Linked DNA regions of Homo sapiens: region 2 is linked to region 1. Evidence: promoter capture Hi-C in human tissues and cell types (Jung and others, 2019). All regions are on one chromosome and are shown on one strand. Each heading gives the region's core, a stretch centred on a gene start or on the middle of the fragment in contact. The rest is flanking DNA. Distances are from core to core; before and after follow the strand shown.

Region 1 (3,023 bases), core at 91-2,590:
CGTCCCCAGAAGTCTGGAAAGGCAGTTGGCTGCACACCATGGCCCCTGCTCACTCCCTTCTTTGCCCTGAAAGTGTTAAAAAGGAAAACATAAAGTCAACACCAGCTCCTCCCTGCCGGTGAAAATTGGCACGAATGAGTTTACTTTCTGGCTGCCGGCCCTCACAAAACCGTTACCCAAAAAAAGTTCACCATGCTAAACTGCTCCAAATATAAATGTGAGACGCGCCGGCCCACCCCCACCCCACCCCACGTTACAGGAATGGCCTGACCAGGATGAGCCCAGAGACGGCTAAATGCACATCAAACATTTCAGATTTGGGAACTTCAGTGGTTTTGGGGAAAAGACCTGGCAAAGCCCGATCTGAAACTTATGACAGTTGAGCACATGATCTCCGCCATGAAGAGCAAATAAGAGGCGTACACAACCCTCCATAAGACCGCGGTGGCTGATCTGCCACAAACCCTCCTACGAGAGGACCAGGACGGCAAGGCCGGAGCCCGGCCCGGGGGGAGGTTGACGATTCCGCCCAGCCCTCCCCGCGCAGCGCCCGCGAACAATGGGGGTGGGATCCCCCGGGCCGCGCCAGGACCGCTGCACGGCCTGAGCCACCAGAGATCGAACCCGGGGTCCAACGACAAGTTTCGCATTGAAATCTGGCCGGGCGTTCCAGGCCGAACCCGCCAGCGAGGAGGTGGCGCGCACCGCGCTGCTGCACCAAGGACGCCGCGGCTCCAGCGCAGAGCGCACGGGAAGGCCGATCCCGCCGGGCCCGCTGCATCCTGCGTCCCCGCGCGGCGCCCAGGCCCCACAGACACCCCCAGGGCGCGGGGGGATCGCGGCCCCACAAACATCCCAGGGCGCGGGGGATCGCGGCCCCACAAACACCCCCAGAGCGCGAGGGGATCCCAGGCCCCACAGACACCCCCAGGGCGCGGGGAATCGCGGCCCCACAAACGTCCCCAGAGCGCGGGGGATCGCGGCCTCACAAACGTCCCTAGGGCGCGGGGTCTGGGGGTCCGGGGGACGCGCACGCTCCGGGCTGGGGTCGCACCTCCCCCTCCGGGCCCGGCCCCCGCCCCGCCGCAGGCCCCGCGCCCCCAGCCCTCCGCGCGCGGCCCTCCCCGGTGACAGCGCGGCCCGGCCCGGGGCGGGGGCCCGGTTACCTTCCGACAGCTCCAGCTCCAGCTCGGCCAGGCGCGCCCGCACCTCCAGGGGCAGCGCCATGCCCTCCAGGCTGCGGTCCGCCATGCTCCGCGGGCGCCGCGCCCCGCACGGCCTCCTCTTTGTTCGCAGGCGGAGGTCTCGGCGGCTCCTCGCGCCCGGCGGAACCGCACCGAGGAGGAGGCGGCGGCGCGGGCGCGGGAGGCGGGCGGCGGGCGCGCAGGGACCTCCCTCCCCTCGGCGCCTCCTCAGCGCGGCCCCGCCACGGCCGCCTCGCGCGCCCCCGCGCCCCACGGTCCCCGGCCCGCCCCGCGCGCGCTCGGCCCCTCCCCGCAGGCGCTGCGGACCCGGACCCGGCCCTGCTGCTCTCGGCCCCGGCCCGGCGGGAGCGTCTCTGCGCGCGCGCGTCACGGGGCCGCGGGGGCAGGGCGCGCGCGCGCGGGGCGCGAGGACGCGCAGGAGCGGGAGCGCGCGGGGGGGCGCGCGGCCGCGTCGGCGAAGCGCGCGCTCCCGGGGGCGCGCTCGGGGGCGGGTTGGGGGCTCGGGGCCCGCGGGGCGGGGCGGGGCGGGGCGGTCTTGTCTGTCCTGGGCTCTGCGCGTCCAGCGGAGCCTGCGGGCCCGGCCCCAGAGCCTGGTCCACCCGGCTCCCTGCGAAAATCACGTCCTGGAGCCGCAGCTTGACGTCTGCGCGAAAACTCGCAGTGCCCCGGGTCTTGGAGGGCTGGTTTTTTGTTAATGAACATTTTAAGAGGCGGAGACGGAGCGCTAGGCTGGAAGTTTCGAATGCAACGACCAGCAGATGACCTTGAGCGACTCTGAGCCTTTGCCTGGAGGGTCAGTGTCCCCATCTGTGAAAAGGGGATGGGAAGACAAGGTTGGGTCACCTAATCTCCAAATGCCAGGTGGGCCCGAAAAGCCTGGCTCCAGCCCTCCCGGAACAGGCTGCAGGCCCCAGGGTTCCCACCGTCCTTCTCCTTGTGGGGCCATCAGCTCCCAGCCTCAGTGCCACCTCGGCGAGGCTGAAGCCCCGTCTGTGCCTCTAGTCCTGACCATCTGGGGAGGCCCTCGCATCTCCAACCGTCCACTGAGCAAACTTCCCTGGAAGCCCCTAGACACCCCAAACGCCACAAACCCTAAATGAAGCCAGCTGCTTCCAGTGACTCTTAGTCACTGGAAGTTCTGCTTCTCAGAACCGCCCCCGTTGTCTTCATCATCACCTTCCTCTGTCTCCACACATCCTCCCCAGTCTGTTGCACAAAGCCCCGACGACCTGGCCTCCTTTTCATCCTTGTACCCCCTCTTCCCAGCCCGGCCCCTCCCTTAGGCCCAGAGCTTCCTAAAGACCTCCTCGCCTCCCCGTCCTCCACGGGACATTGGCCAGCGCTGGCTCCCGGAGGCCCAGCTGCACTCACTCCCCTTTCAGAGTGGGCCGCAGGAACACAGGTCCCCCACCTCACCCCCCTACCCCTACCCCCCACCACCCCCCCACCCCGCTTCGACCGGAGCCCCCACCAGCCGGGACCCACCTGCACGGCAGCCTTGCGGCCTCCACACTCCGGCTCCTGCAAACAACGCGGCTGACCCGCAGCACCTCTGCTCCCGGCCTCCACCCCGGAGAGCCTGCCCCTTCTCTGCCCCTGCCACCCACAGCCATCCCTGACCCCAGGTCCAGAACAATCTCTCTCCTTTCTCTTCCTGCACCGGCCACTTCCCGCCCTCATCACGTTTGACCTTTTTTATCTTCTCTGTATTCTTTGTGAGTGTAAGCGCCTGGAGGACAGAGCCCATGCCTCACCCACCTTTGCCCTTCCCATGGATCTAGCAGTGGTGGCAACCGCCAGAGGTGTGTGCATTTCCTG
Region 2 (3,059 bases), core at 39-2,538, 560 kb before region 1:
ATATTTACTTTCTACCATTTCCCCTGCGAGATCTAATGTGTTTACTATATTTTTCTCTAGGTCTTTAAGGGATTTATCACTGGACAATTTATTAAGACATAGTTTTCTTCAAATAATAGAAGAATACAAATGGACGTTTTATACTTTACTACTTCTAGAAGACAGTTTCCTATGAACTATTTATTTATGTGTTTATAAATGTTTATTTATTTAAATGTTCCTATCCCATCAGCCTTTTTACAATTTCTCTGAGCTTTGTTTGTATTAAAAACTTAAAACATACATAAAGATAACATCAGTTTTAATTTTATGCCAATTAACCAAACCCAAAGAAAGCTTTTATGAAAATTAACAAACGGGAGAATCCTTCAGAACAACAGAAAATTCCAAAGGCATCAGTGGTAAATACTGTGATGATTTCTTAAACATTAATTTGCATGGGAACATGAGTAATCACAACTGTGAGAAAGCTGAAGGAAGAGAATGAAAATCTTAAATGCTATATACCACAGTACTGGGTTTTAAAGAAACTAAAAGGCCGGGCGCAGTGGCTCACGCCTGTAATCCCAGCACTTTGGGAGGCCGAGGCGGGCAGATCACGAGGTCAAGAGATAGCGACCAACCTGGTCAACATCGTGAAACCCCGTCTCTACTAAAAACACAAAAATTAGCTGGGTGTGGTGGCGCGCTCCTGTAGTCCCAGCTGCTCGGGAGGCCCAGGCAGCAGAATCGCTTGAACCCGGGAGGTGGAGGTTGCAGCGAGCTGAGATTGCACCACTGCACTCCAGCCTGGCAGCAGAGCCAGACTCCGTCTCAGAAAAGAAAGTAAAAAAATTCCCGCACAGATTCTCATTTGCCATTGCCACAAATAGGTGGCAATGAGAAGGGAATTTCTGTAAAATGTAACATGGAAGAGGCATGTTCACAGCTCTGTGTTCAGATATGATCACTGACATGTGTGTATAGACCTTAGTAATGATGGCCAAGTGCAGGTGCCTCTTTTTGTTTTAATGTAAGTTCACTGCATGAAACTCTCCATAAGCTGAGAGTGGAGCCTATGACTAAATTTTGTCCTTCCTAAAAAGTGAAAACATGTTGGAAAGGTATCCCTGACAAGAGGTTGGAGGAAGTATATAAACATGTAAGTGTGCATTTTCTGGTACTTGAAATGTTTAAATGAAGAAGAGAATAACTTCTCAAGATATGACAGCAATTATCCCCATGCCTCTGTATATTGTGAATCCAAGAATAAGTCTCTTAAAGAGTCCTGGCTTCCATCCCAGGGGAAGAAGTTTTCTGCAGGGAAGCAGCGGTGTGATAGTGCCTGCAGAGAGGCCAGGCATCATTAAGTGCGGTGAGGAAGAAAGGAAGCCAGGGGAAAAGAGAAATAGGACCAGAAAGTATATCTGATAAGAGAGCTTTTGAAGAACAGAGCAGAAACAACAGGATTTCCAGGAACAGAGGCCGGTATAGCATTGGAATTCATAGAATTTTAGTACTAATGGGAACCTTGTGCGAATTGTAAACCTCCATCATTTACAGAGAAGGGAACTGAAGCTGGGAGAGGTTGCTACGTGCCAAAAGTTACATAACTAGTCAGAAGCAGAGTCTGGGGAAGTGGCTGCTGGAACTGCAGTTCTGAAAAACAAACAACAAACAAACAAACAAAAAACCTAAGAGAGTCAACACAGGCTGAAATTGTTTCTTCTGTTCCAGGTAATGGCAATTCATCTGGAGCTAAAGATCAAAAGCCAGGAGGAAATCCCCAGGATCCAGCCTGGGTTGGGCTGCTGGGTCTGTGGGGAGCAATGAGGAACTGGAGATGCACCTGCAATTAATCAGGTACATTCTTGTGTCCTTAGGTGTCTTCGCTTTGTTGTGCTGTGTGCTCGACTACGGGACGTGGTAGAAGGGGAGCTCCTTTTGTGTCAGGCATTTCACAATATTTGGCCCGTTTAATATTCATCATTACCATTTTACAGATAATAATAATTGTAGCCACTAATACTGAAGTTATTCCAAGCAGGCAGTATTATAATTTTACATGCATTTTCTCATTTAATCCTCTCAATGACCACTATGAAATCGTATATTATTCCCATTTCACAGATGAGGAAAATGAGACATAAATTGGTAAATAACTTGTCCAAGGTCAATAGCTAGAGAATGGTGGAGTTAGGACTCTAATCCAAGCAATCTGATGTTAGAAAATCATACTCCTGAAAAACAGGGAAACCAAGGTTCAAAAAGGTGAAATCACTTGAATGTCTCACAGTGAGTTGGAATTTGGACTCAGGTGCACTAGTGCATATTCTTCTACATCATGCTATAGAAGAGAGTCGGGGCCGGGCACGGTGGCTCGCGCCTGTAATTCCAGCACTGGGGAAGCCAAGATGGGCAGATCACTTGAGCTCAGGAGTTCGAGACCAGCGTAAGCAACATGGCGAAACCCCATCTCTACCAAAAATACAAAATTAGCTGGGCACGGTGGCATGCACCTGTGGTCCCAGCTGCTCGGGAGGCTGAGGTGGGAGGATCGCTTGAGCCCAGGAGTGGATGTTACAGTGAGCCAAGATGGTGCCACTGCACTCCAGCCTGGGTGACAGAGTGAGCCCTATCTCAAAAAAAGGAAAACAGGGACCAGGGAGACAGGGAAAAGGTTAGAATCACAATTTTGAAGGAAAGAAGGCACACACATACACAAACATCTGTTTTTCATCTTGTGTGATGAGTTGCCCTTGAAAAGACAGGATCCTACTTTTCCTTAAATGTTTTGAAGCATATTAACCTGAGTATGGGAGGACCTACTTCTAACAAATACTGTACATTCATGGACAGAAGTGGGGAACTGAATTTCAGAAGCCACAGCTATGGAGCCCTGAAGAGATGCCCGGAGCCTGGGTTTCAAGGCCCACAGGCACTGGAACTAGGCCTGGCAAGCACTGTCAGCTCAGCTCCTCGGTTGCTGTGTAGTAAAAAGCTGCCACTTAAGTATTGGAAGAATCATGGCTTTCAATGGAAATGGATTTCTTATACTGACAGTTTCTCCTGGAGAACGT

Evidence for each region. Contacts are between HindIII fragments. The study calls those that stand out against the background at their distance.
Region 2: a fragment that was not itself captured here is called in contact with the fragment with the promoter of DIP2C in region 1 in 1 of the 25 tissues and cell types used here (pancreas).

What each region holds. Positions count from the first base shown.
Region 1 is chr10:688,328-691,350 of GRCh38, forward strand. DIP2C (disco interacting protein 2 homolog C) reads right to left here and starts at 1,341. Exons shown (of 37, transcript NM_014974.3): 1 at 1,167-1,341. The coding sequence starts at 1,251. RefSeq lists an enhancer at 1,716-2,651. The HindIII fragment of the contact is 17,538 bases long and covers 1-3,023 here.
Region 2 is chr10:128,494-131,552 of GRCh38, forward strand. It overlaps a transcript of ZMYND11 not described here. Among named protein-coding and RNA genes, the nearest start is that of ZMYND11, 5.4 kb to the right of the region's middle. The HindIII fragment of the contact is 6,236 bases long and covers 1-3,059 here.